Regions from separate parts of the Homo sapiens genome. Here regions 2, 3 and 4 are each linked to region 1. Evidence: promoter capture Hi-C in 16 types of primary human blood cells and fetal thymus (Javierre and others, 2016). All regions are on one chromosome and are shown on one strand. Each heading gives the region's core, a stretch centred on a gene start or on the middle of the fragment in contact. The rest is flanking DNA. Distances are from core to core; before and after follow the strand shown.

Region 1 (3,119 bases), core at 231-2,730:
ATAAACAACTATTTATTAACATCAGTATAACTGCTGGCTTATGAAAGAGAGTGAGCGAGCTGCAGGAGATTTTAAAAAGTGCAAAGAAGGAAAATGCCCAAAAAAAAATACTAAGAGAAAATGCTCAGAAGTGGTAGTGGAAGGATTTCTGAAAGAAAACATCTGTTTTCAGCCATATGATTCTAGTTTGGGTTTTGCGCCTGCATTTGTATATGTAGTTGTTATTGCTTGCTTTTGCTTATTTTGCATAGTTTCTGGTTTGAATTTCAAGGAAAAGGAAAAGGCTCTTATTAAGGATATAAATGGAAATCAAACTAGTACAAAATGCTTGAAGTATGTGTCATGGTAAGAAATTCAAAGGAGAGAATTTCAACGAGTGAACAGTTGCCAGACAGTATTGAGGGATCCAGTTGGGCAACTGTTAAATTAGGTGATTCATAATAGTAAAGGCAATAGAGTAGTAGAAGCAGAACCCAACACAAAAGGGGTTAGTTAAGTGAGTAGATGCCAAGAAACCAACATGAATTAAGTCAGGGCTATTGCTAAAGGAAGAAATCTACTTTCAAACAAAGTACAAGACTATGACTAAAAATACATCACTGTTTTCATGAAACTTCTCTCTGGGCAACATTTTTTTCTTGTCCTTAATGTTTGCAAGCTACTTACATTGCATCATATTCATTGTTCTTTCTCATGAAAATAATAGCTATCATAGTTTTTGAAACTTTCATGCTGAAGTTCGAGTCAGTTTAATCAGATTTTATGAAGGACGAAGGTAACTTAAGTGGAAATTATGATCCTGAATAAGTCATAAAATTGCAAAGGAAGAAAAATAATTTGAAGGCATTTCAAACTCTTAGTTTAGTCACCACACACATTGATGTCTAATTCAGCAAGAGGCAGACACAGCTGGTACTTGATGAATTCTGCTGCCTGTCTGATAAGAATACAATTTATTCTTTACTGAGGTCTGATATACCACATCAGGATAAGCTGCATCCTATCCTTTGTAGAATGTTTCTAAAACCAAATGAATCTTGCAAATCTCTTCCACCTCTTGCCCCAGTCTTACCGTGTCCGGAATTGGTGGGTTCTTGGTCTCACTGACTTCAAGAATGAAGCCGCGGACCCTAGCGTTGAGTGTCACGGTTCTTAAAGGTGGCGTGTCAGGAGTTTGCTCCTTCTGATGTTCGGATGTGTTTGGAGTTTCTTCCTTCTGGTGGGTTCGTGGTCTGGCTGGCTCAGGAGTGAAGCTGCAGACCTTCGCGGTGAGTGTTACAGCTCTTAAGGCTGCGCGTCTGGAGTTGTTTGTTCCTCCTGGTGGGTTCGTGGTCTCGCTGGCTTCAGGAGTGAAGCTGCAGACATTCCCAGTGAGTGTTACAGCTCATAAAGGCAGTGTGGACCCAAAGAGTGAGCAGCAGCAAGATTTATTGCAAAGAGTGAAAGAACAAAGGTTCCACAGCCTGGAGGGTGACCTCAGTGGGTTGCCACTGCTGGCTACTTCTCTTATCTGGCCCCACCCACATCCTGCTGATGGGTCCATTTTACAGAGAGCCGATTGGTCCATTTTACAGAGAGCTGATTGGTCTGTTTTGACAGGGTGCTGATTGGTGTGTTTACAATCCCTGAGCTGGACACAAAAGTTCTTCATGTCCCCACTAGATTAGCTAGATACAGAGTGTGGATTGGCCTATTTACAAACCTTGAGCTAGATACAGAGTGCTGATTGGTGCATTTACAAACCTTGAGGTAGATACAGAGTGCTGATTGGTGCATTTACAATCCCTTAGCTAGACATAAAGATTCTCCAAGTCCCCACCAGATTAAATAGATACAGAGTGCTGATTGGTGTATTTACAATCCCTTAGCTAGACATAAAGATTCTCCAAGTTCCCACTAGACTCAAGAGCCCAGCTGGCTTCACCCAGTGGATCTTGCACCGGGCGGCAGGTGGAGCTGCCTGCCAGTCCTGCTCCATGCACTGGCACTCCTCGGTCCTTGGGCCATGGATGGGACAGGGTGCTGTGGAGCAGGGGTCAGCACAGGTTGGGGAGGCTCAGGCAGCACAGGAACCCATGGCGGGGTGAGGTGGGGAGCGGGAGAGGGGAGGAGGCTCAGGCATGGCAGGCTGCAGGTCCCCAGCCCTGCCCCACCGGGAGGCAGCTAAGGCCCTGCAAGAAGTGGAGCACAGCAGCTGCTGGCCCAGGTGCTAAGCCCCTCACTGCCTGGGGCCGCTCCGAGTGCAGGTCCCTCAGAGCCCAAGCCCACCCAGAACTCGCGCTGGCCCTCAAGCACCGGGCGCAGCCCCAGTTCCCACCCCTGCCTCTCCCTCCACACCTCCCAGCAAGCTGAGGGAGCCAGCTCCGGCCTCGGCCAGCCCAGGAAGGGGCTCCCACAGTGCAGCGGAGGGCTGAAGGGCTCCTCAAGTGCCGCCAGAGTGGGTGCCCAGGCAGAGGAGGCACCGAGAGCGAGGGAGGGCTGCAAGGGCTGCCAGCACGCCGTCACCTCTCATTACCTTGATTATAAAATCGGGAGAAGAGGTATTTTAGAGCTAGTAAGAAAACTGCTTCCATGAGGGACTGGGCACGGTGGCTCACGCCTGTAATCCCAGCATGTTGGGTGGCCGAGGCGGGTGGATGACGAGGTCAGGAGATCTAGACCATCCTGGCTAACACGATGAAACCCCGTCTCTACTAAAAATATACAAAAAATTACCTGGGCATGGTGGCGGGCGCCTGTGGTCCCAGCTACTCGGGAGGCTGAGGCAGGAGAATGGCTTGAACCTGGGAGGCGGAGCTTGCAGTGAGCCGAGACTGCACCACTGCACTTCAGCCTGGGTGACAGAGCGAGACTCTGTCTCAAAAAAAAAAAAAAAAAGAAAAGAAAAGAAAAAAGAAAGCTGCTTCGATGAGAACTTGCTGAGTTCGAACTCTCGTCTTTTACTTTCACTGTGGTGATTTCTCATTTATTTTCTTCACTCAGTCCTGGGGTTTTTGTTCTTCCCACCCCATTTTCCCTGCTCGAAAAAGGAGACAATTTGAATACAAAATATGGAATAACAGAAAGGGGGATTTTTGAAAGTTCTCTGTAGGAAATAGAAACCAAAAAGGAAATTCAGT
Region 2 (3,119 bases), core at 341-2,840, 300 kb before region 1:
CAATTTATTTAGGTATTGCTTAATTTCTCTCAGTAATGTTTTATAGATTTCATCGTACAGATCTTGGATATATTTTAAAAAATTTATTCTTAAATGTTTTGTGTTTTGGGATACTACTATAAATAGTATTTAAAAAATTTTACTTTCTAATTGTTCATTTTAATATATAGAAATACAACTGATTTTTGTATATTGGCTTTGTGTCCTGTGACCTTGCTCAATTCATTTATTAGTTGTAGTAGGCTTTTTTTTCTTTTAGAATTCCTTAGGATATTCTATGTACACAATCATGTTTTCTGAAAATGAGTTTACATTTTTCTTCTTTCTAATCTATGTATCTTTATATCTCACAGGACTCCAGTACACTGATGAATAACAATGGTCAGAGTGGACATCTTTGCTGTCTTTTCAATCTTACTATATTATGTGCACTACAGGTGTAATCTGTAGGTTTCTCATAGATTCCTTTTATCAGAGTGAGAAAGCTCCATTCTATTTCTAATTGGCTGAAAACTTTTATTATAAATGAGGGTTGAATTTTGTCAGATGCATTTTCTATATATACTACATAAGATGATCTTTTTTTTCTGATAATATAGCATAATTGCAATGATTAATTTTTGGATATTAAAACTAATCCTGCATTCCTATGGTAAACCTTACTTGGTCAGGATGTATTACTTTTTATATCTTTATACACACAGGCACACACACATGCACACACACATATCTGGATTTGATTTGCTAAAATTTCATAATCTTTGTTTCTATGTTCATGAGAGATATTGAACTGGAGTTTTCTTTATTTCTTTCGCTGGCATTTTTTAAATCAGTTTTTGTATCAGGGTAATGCTGAAACTAATTTTATGAGACCAGCATTACCCTGATACAAAACCCCTGATTAAAAGTTCAGACAAAACCATTAGGCATTTCTTTATTTTTCAAATTACAAAAATTGTTGATCAATAAGTAAAAGTTTTTCATCCTGCTCCACTTTCTGAATAAATGTGTGCAGAACTGGTATTATTAGGTTTGTGCAAAAGTAATTGCGGTTTTTGTCATTAAAATTAATGGCAAAACCGCAATTACTTTTGCACTGACCTAATAGTTCTTCCTTAAATACTTGATAGAATTCACTAATAAGCCATCTAGGTATTGAGGTTTGTTTGCAGGAAGACTTTAATTACAAATTCATTTTCTTTCATTGACATAGGGCTAGTTGCATTTTTCATCTCTCCTTGTGTCAGTTTTGGTAATTTGTATCTTTTAAATAATCTGTTCATTTCATCCAAGTTGTCAATGTACTGACATAAAATTATCCATAATATTATCCTATTATTGCTTTCATGTTTGTATGATCAGTAATGATATTCCTTCTTTCATTCTTCATATGGTACTTTGAGTTTTTTCTTTTTTATTGGTCAATCTAGCTAAAACTTTTACTTATTGATCTTTTCAAAGAACCAGCTTTTGGTTTCATTAATTTTCTCTATTGTTGGTTTGTTTCTAGCCTTTCATTATGGATTTGTATAGGCTGGGGAGTGAGTTATGTTGAGTAGGTCTGAGATGGGGGTCTGTAGGGTGGGCCAGGGAGTGAGATCTATGAAGAGCAGGGATTCTCACCAGTGTCAAACCCTGTGACACAGGTAAGTTTCACTGCTTTTCCCTGTGCTATTCCCAAAGCAAAACCCTTCTATGGATTTTTATAGTTAGACCACTATAGAAGACAAAAAACAGGCTTCCTCCTATACCATTCCCCTCCCCATTTCCCACAATATCATAAAAGGAAAAGACAAGTGGTCAGACATATGATAATTGTATGGCTTTTGGCACAACAGATACAAGTCTACAGTTCAAAGGTACGTCTGATCTAGAAAATCTTTGGCTATCCTAGGCATTTCATTACAGAAGGATGGGAGTGAGCTGGCACAAGGAGGAAAAACGTAGCTAGTTGGATATATTAAATAAAGGGTCAGTGCTCAGGCTGCATAAATGTTGATGAGATAGAAAAGACATGTCTCAAGAGAATGTTGTTCCTTATCGTGTTGCCATAGGATCCTATCTTGGAGCAACAGTAAAGTAAGGGCCAAAAGAAAGAAAAGTGTAGAGGGGCTGGAAGTAGGCGAAGGCTCATCTCAGGACATAGGGCAAGGGCAGAAGTTTCTGTGGTTGCTAGGATGGGACAGCTGGTCCCAGAAAGTCACTTATATATGAATGACAGAAGGGCACATGCACACACACAGACACACACCCCAGTATAAAATAAAAGCTCATGGCCCATATGGTCTTGATATACTTACAAAGCCTCGTGTATACTGATTCAGGCTATCGATTGCTGCAATCTTTGATAATTCTTCTTTTACATATGTAGGAGGGGATATATCTGGAAAGCCTTGGCCAAGATTCACAACAGAAGGGTCTGCAGCCAATTTGGTAAATTCAATCCTAAGATTGAAAAAAATACTAATATTAATAAGTTCTACAATTATAAAGTTCGCTTTTTTATATCTTATAGTCTTACCACAAAACAGACAAATAAGACCCTAGTTTAGTCCTATAGGTTTTAAAAAATGAGTTTCCAACAAAAATTTACCAACCACAAATCAGTTTACCAAATAGAATGATGGCTGAATTTATGAACCCAATGTCCCTTACAAACCTCAGTTTCACGCTACCCATATTTTAACCACATATATATATTTTCTCAACAATTCCAGCTGCTGCTAAGTTCTTTCATCAACTATTAGAGAACAGAACTAATAAGAAAAGTTCCTGGATTGGAGGTTAAGTTCCATGAGGGCATTAACATTTGTCCTTTTCTCTGCCATATGTCCAGTGTCCAGCAAAGGGCATGGCACATGTGCCAAATGAACAATTCAGTATATGGATTGCTAACTTCCTTCCATTTTCATTTAATGGATGAATTAAATGAGGACCTTTATTTATAGACCATGGATGAGGCAAAAAAAACTCCCATCTAAAGATACGAAAATATGTAGGAAACCCTCACTAAATTATTATTTATTTTAAGATACTCACCACACATTACTATCAAGTCCTTCAATCCGTTTTGCATTTGTGAATTTCAGTGACATTTTCTGAAATATATAAATATTGAA
Region 3 (3,119 bases), core at 333-2,832, 310 kb after region 1:
GACTTGCTCTTTGGGAGTAAGGCCTGGGTTTACGTTTCTTTTAAAAGTGCCCCAAGAGGTTCTAAGGTGAAGCTGAGATTGAGAATCACTGTCTTAGGTTTGTGATTCTTGAAAAGTGGTCCTTGGACCAGCAGCATCAACATGAACTAGGAATTTGTTAGCAATGCAATTCTTGAGACCTACTTCCTACCTTACAAATTGGCAACTCTGAGGGATGGACTAATCACTTCATGTTTTAATAAGCTCTTGGTGATTTTTATGTACATTAATGTTAGAGAACCACTATTAGAAAAATCTTTCTTTCTAGGTCTCAAAACTACGACTGAGTTTGGGAAGCATGTTTGTTATTTGAAAATCACTGTACTAACAAGATTTGAAAGAACTACAAAGGGACATAAGGAAACTAGTATATCAAATGTTATTGCCGGTGATCATTTAAGCACTTGAAATATGTTTAATGCTTGTCATTAAATCTCTCAAGAATGGTGAAATGAGTTACTTAGCATAAAGAAAAGGGGCATATTAATCAGAGATACTGATGCATTGTTTCCTAGAGAGAGAACTCAACAAAAGGCGAATTTAAATTTCAGTTAGATATATGTTAGTCCCAAGAAACATCTTAATGGGAAGTAGCACTAAACATTTTGAAGGGATATAAGGTGATTTTTAAATCAATTTTCAATGAGAGTAGTGTAGAGAACCGCTATTTGGAATTGTTCGGCTATAATCCCTGCCTGGGGTCAGAGACAGATCTTTGAAGTAGCGTCCTCTTCTCAGTATATAATGACACTAAATACCATCTGATCATCATTTGTTTATTTTTTCACTTGTTATTTTAGAAATGCTTTCAAAGTAAAATAAGGACTACTGGGAAGTAAAGATGCCTAACTTGAATGTTGATGTTACAGTCTTAGAGACTTTGGAGTAAGATTGTCAAGTGAATTCATGTGTTTTGAAAAAGCTTTTATGACTTCTTAATGAGGTTTAAAAGCTGAAATAATGGGATTAGAACCGTAAAATCCATTACTCTTAACATTTCTTTGGATTGATTTAGTGTGTTTGTATATTAGAAATAGATATTTTATTTGGATTGAATCATCATTGTTTACTAAAATATGGTCTGGAAACAATTTCCTGGACAGACAGTATTAAATGGCATAATGACAAAAGATAGCTATGCTTAAACTCTCTAGTTAAGCACTTCAAATAGGAAAATTATCATCATTTTATACATAGGAATGCTGAGATGTTTTATATATACTTAAATCCAGATGCTATATATTTAAATATTAAGTTTTAGTTCAGTAGAAAATATTTAGTAGGAAAATGTTTAGCTGAGAAAGTAGATTATATGTAACGGAAGACATTACAGAAAACTACATTTGCATCCTTATTCAAACCCAGTTATAATGCAGTTATAACCCAGTTATAATGCAGATATTGGATGAGTTGGGAAAGAGCGCTAATTAGCTTTTTCTTCAGCTTTTGAGAGACCTAAGACTGTGGCGTAGTTAATTGGATTGACTGAGGCCATGTGGTCTGGTGTGCATGAGGTTGGGATTTGAGTATGAGGACCTAAGTTCCAGTTGCAACTTTATTTCTTAGAGGTTTTGTCACCTTGGGCAAGGTTAATTCTTTGGGACTGCCTTAATTTCTATGCATATAAACATAAAGAGTAATACTATTTATTTCAATGGCTTGTTTTAAGTATAAAACAAATTAATGTAAATGAGACATGCTTTGAAGGTAGAAAAACAGATGTTAAATTATTAATAAAGTAGAAAGTATATTTCTAATATTTAAGGAGAACTGTATAAGAAGAATCATGGCTGAGTAACATTTTTGAATTATGCAATAAATTCTTTTCTGGCATGTTACAAATGCAGCCGCTATGGAAGAATATGTAAAATGTTTCACACATCAGATGTCTTTATCATGCTCAGTGCACATAAATGCAGTCATGTGATATATGTTGTAAGACTTTTATAAAGGCTTGTGAATTGTGAATGAGAAATCTTACTCCAGTTGTGCCCTGTAGTTATGAATTAGTGTACAGCTAGGTTCTTATACATACTAACTGTGCTTTCTAACCTGCAAAACAATTTGATGCTGGATGGTGACTAATTGTAAAATAGGCTTTGCACATGACTTGGTAAACCCAAAGTAAGTTTTGGACATGCCCAAATTTTTGATATTTGAAATGACAAGCTTAAAAGATTATTGCTAAAAGTATCTTAAATACAATTTGGGGTCAGTACTCTTAGGAAGATTTGAAGTACTTTTTAAAAAGGATTGTATAATACAAAATCTCCCTAGAAACTTTTTTTTTGAGGTTTCATAGGCACTAAAAGATATAATTTTTACTTTCAATTAAAAACAAATTCTAGCATTTTACAATTTTCTCACAGTTCAAATTATCAATATATATGTAATTTAACTATCACAAATTATTGAACTATAAATGTTACAAATGGCTTTTATTAAACTCTAAATTAAACAAATCTAATATAAAGCCTAAGTATGTTTAATAATAACATAATTTCAAGTAATTTCAGCCATATTTCTGAGCTGTATCTGAAAAAGTATATTAACTTATCACTTTTTCTAATGAGATTGGTAGGCTAAATTTTAGGAGCACTGAGACTTATTTGGATAGATGTTTGGTTTTAAATATGGGTACAGAAATCACTTGGTGTGACAAGCTGTCTGAAAAATGCAAATAAGAACGACTGTGTTTGAGGAATGAGTGAGAGAAATTAACATATGTCGACTACTTAGAAAAGCTGTGTTCATCTAAGTGTTGTAGACACAGAATTTTAAAATATGTTGTGTTTAAATTGCTGTGGGAACTAACCTGTAATTGAAAGGAAGTTCAGGGAGTGAGTATGGTTTAATGAATGTGAGTGGGGCCCTGTAGATACACCTTTGCCAGAATGTGCCCCAGTGTGAAAAGTAAACTGACCTATGAAAATCTAAGCCAGGCACAGTGGCTCACACCTGTAATCCCAGCATTTGAGAGGCCAAGGTGGAAGGATTGCTTGAGGCCCAGAGTGTGAAAATCTATTTGCCATGTCATGTCTTATGACTGAGAGGGCTTCTGGAGACAGTATCTCCAGTTT
Region 4 (3,119 bases), core at 222-2,721, 280 kb after region 1:
TATCATCTGGACAATTGATCTATCCTGATCTCCTCCCTATGTGTATTTCTCCTTTTTAACGAGTTGTTCATGCTGCTACCAAAGTGGCAAATTCTAACTTTTTAAATTTAAGATTTGACGCTGACTGGATTAAGTCACTCCCTTTCACAAATACCTTTTTGGGTTCAATAGAATGGTACCTGTGTCTCATTAGGTCTGGACCTAAATGGCCTTTTCATCTCACCTTCTTCAGCTTTCCCGCTAGGTTCACTTGCGAGAACAGTACTCAGTCAAACCTTAGCTATGCCAAACCTTTAATAAAGCATAAAAGATTAATTATGTTAATTATTAGCCTTGCTTTGATATGAAAGGGCAAAATTCACCAGTTAGCTCCTTGGTCTTCCACTGAATATTGGAATATTAACTAGCACTTTATAACAGAGCCTTTCACCAGCCCAACTTTACTGCTCTTCCCTTTTCCCAGCTCTCTAGTCAGCCAGAACCCACAGTTCTGCCTAAATTCCTTCATTCCTGGTCAGTCTCACTGATACTACCATGGTCTTCACTCTCACTGCTTCAGCATTGAATGACTGCAGTAGGTTCCTGCCTGGTTTCCTTACCTTCATTTCCCCCGGCCCCCGATCCTGCCCCATTGTATCTCTCATGCCTTACCAGGTTAGTTTTCCTAAAATATTGCTTGCATTCTATTTTAGAATCTATAATTGTTCTCTTTTGTAAGTCAATTCAAGCCATACTCTCATATTCTGGAATCTCCAACCGTAAATGTCCTCACTGCCTCATTTATTTGTGAAGTCGTCCCCCTCTGGCCGTGAAGATCCTCTGCAGCCTCACTGCTCTTCCTCAGGCAACACCCCTCTGCTCTTTCCCTCCCCACTACCCCGCTGGAGATTTTTTTCCTGCTCCAGCCCCTGCATATCCCTAACGGCTCAGAGATACCTTATCTATGTTGCCTTCTCCATTCCCTGAGCTATACCTGTTCATCTTACAAGAGGAAGCTTTGGATGGTTGGAAGAGCACCATGTTTGGTGTCAGTTATAGGATCAAGCTCTTGCTCACCAGCCATGTGTCATCAGCAGCTAATTTTTTTTCTCTCTGAGCTTGTATCCTTATCCTAAAGTCAAGTGTATGATTTAAATGACTATGAAAAAAATGCTCCATAAACTTTTGAGCATTATATAGATGTTCAGAGTTGTTCCACTCCACTATTTAATCCTTCATTTTTTTCCTGTTCACTTTTTGTACAAATTTCTCATTTTCCTAACTTTATAAGTGTTTTAAGGATAGATAGAAAATGAAATATACTTTCTTATCTTATTCAGCCCATACCACAGCAAATGCTCAATGAATTCTCCCTGTCAAGAGAATTCAATGAATATAAATATAAAGGATCAGGCTCTGTGGTGAAAGTGCAGTATTTGATAAAGTGAGTGAGGGAGTAACAAGAAAAGAGGGTCCCCAAAGAAAACGGGACTGACTAGCGGTCTGGCCTGCCTCAATACTTTTGGTGCGTCCACAGACAAGCTCTGAATGAGACCCACTAGCCAGGCTCTTCAACCTCTTAACACCATGGCAATAGAATTGACTCAGTTTCTTAAGTGTGACACTGTTCTTAAAACATAGTAGGCTCTCAAGTGTTTCTAGAATTCACTAGCCACATGATTTGATTATTATATATATTTATATACATGCATGTACCGTGCTAATAGATTTGTCTGTCACTGCTTATTTATTCATAGTTTTTTTTCCTTTTACATTTCATTCTTATACAGAGCAGCAGTATGTCTGCTTTGTCTGCAGAGTAGCACTAATATTCAGATTTGCATTGTGTTTGTGCAGTGTCTAATAGGGGCTACCTGATCACTTGCTGAAGTCATAGGTAGTTCAGGAACTACCTTCTTATTTAGATTGCTAGGACATTTTCATAAGAATATTGTACTGTATATAATACTAAGCTTACTCAAATCCTGCTTAAAATTAAAAATAAGTATAAAGAATAATAATTAGTAAATGAGAATATATTCTGTTTTTGCATGGTGTCTTCTAGCCCCTTCTCCCACACCCAATCTCCTTGGAATAAGAGATATGGTAATGGAGCCCAGAAATTCATGATCCTACTTAGTATCCATCTTAGCAGAAAAATGTAAACCATAGTGAGTTTTGTTTGCTAACACTATCCTTAGACAATAAGAATAATCGTTAGGTACTTATAATAACTCTCACTATGTTTAGGTTACTGAGTCAGTTAAAAGCAGACTAATCAGTAAAATACATTTTCTGGTTTTAGAGAGCTTATAATTTACAATAGATTAAAGGGAATGACAGTAACCACAGAAAAATAATTAAGAGAAATGTGATTTACTTGTTACCTAAGAAGCAAAAGATACATTTTTCTCCAAAGTAAGTCATTAAAGATTGCAATCGTTTATACCAGAGTTGATTTACTAGCATGAAAATGATTGCTTAACCCTGCTCCCTGTGTTCACCAGGCGGGTTGGTGAAAGCTTGTGTTTCAGATGAGCCAGCCTGGCTACAGGAAAAGATATTTGCATAGAAGACTGGGGACACTGCCACACAAGAAAATGAAGAATTATGCTTTTGAAATTCCTTTTATTACTTCCTTGATTAAATTGTTGTTTCCAAGGGAATTGGATTTTCAGATGAAATTTTAATAATGCTTCAGATAATTCCAATTGTGTTCTTTCATTTTACTCTGCTTTCACAATATGATCATATTTGGTTTCACTTCCTGGTTAGTGCACACAAGCCTGTTGCTGGGAAATATTTGAATAAAATGTTTATGAGAGAAGACTATTGTTTCAAAGTAGAGGAAGGCATTTTTGTTTGATTTAGACTTAGTTCATGTAGTAATTTTTATAGAAATAAAATTTCTGACATGTAAATTGGTTAAAAACACTCTTTAAAAATAATTTAAAAGACTTATTTCGCACTGAAATTAAGTTACCTTGTGGTGAAATCATCTCTTCTACAGAAGTGTTTGATTAGGTACCAGTTGTGCAACAAATGAAATGTTTGTCCATAATTAGAGTAATTGTAACTTGATTTTAAACAGAGGTTTGATTGCATGGTGAGTGTCATAATGCCAAATGATTTTTCCATTG

What was found. Contacts are between HindIII fragments. The CHiCAGO score rates a contact against its expected background, and 5 or more counts as called.
Region 2: a contact is called between a fragment that was not itself captured here and the fragment with the promoter of GBP5 in region 1, in 6 of 17 cell types (total CD8 T cells, activated CD4 T cells, naive CD8 T cells and 3 more). The highest score is 10.3, in total CD8 T cells.
Region 3: a fragment that was not itself captured here is called in contact with the fragment with the promoter of GBP5 in region 1 in 1 of 17 cell types (total CD8 T cells); the score reaches 5.2 in total CD8 T cells.
Region 4: a contact is called between a fragment that was not itself captured here and the fragment with the promoter of GBP5 in region 1, in 1 of 17 cell types (non-activated CD4 T cells). The highest score is 5.5, in non-activated CD4 T cells.

Annotation. Positions count from the first base shown.
Region 1 is chr1:89,271,380-89,274,498 of GRCh38, forward strand. It overlaps GBP5 (guanylate binding protein 5), which reads right to left and starts at 1,481. Exons shown (of 12, transcript NM_052942.5): 1 at 1,073-1,481. It also overlaps the pseudogene LOC100421401. The HindIII fragment of the contact is 6,725 bases long and covers 1-3,119 here.
Region 2 is chr1:88,966,370-88,969,488 of GRCh38, forward strand. It overlaps KYAT3 (kynurenine aminotransferase 3), which reads right to left. Exons shown (of 14, transcript NM_001008661.3): 3 at 3,040-3,098; 4 at 2,301-2,445. Among named protein-coding and RNA genes, the nearest start is that of KYAT3, 25 kb to the right of the region's middle. The HindIII fragment of the contact is 6,056 bases long and covers 1-3,119 here.
Region 3 is chr1:89,576,422-89,579,540 of GRCh38, forward strand. All of the region lies in intron 3 of LRRC8B (leucine rich repeat containing 8 VRAC subunit B), which reads left to right. Among named protein-coding and RNA genes, the nearest start is that of LRRC8B, 53 kb to the left of the region's middle. The HindIII fragment of the contact is 1,247 bases long and covers 960-2,206 here.
Region 4 is chr1:89,550,261-89,553,379 of GRCh38, forward strand. The region is part of intron 1 of LRRC8B (leucine rich repeat containing 8 VRAC subunit B); the gene reads left to right. LOC124904216 (a long non-coding RNA gene) reads right to left here and starts at 629. Exons shown (of 3, transcript XR_007066214.1): 1 at 600-629; 2 at 224-291. The HindIII fragment of the contact is 957 bases long and covers 994-1,950 here.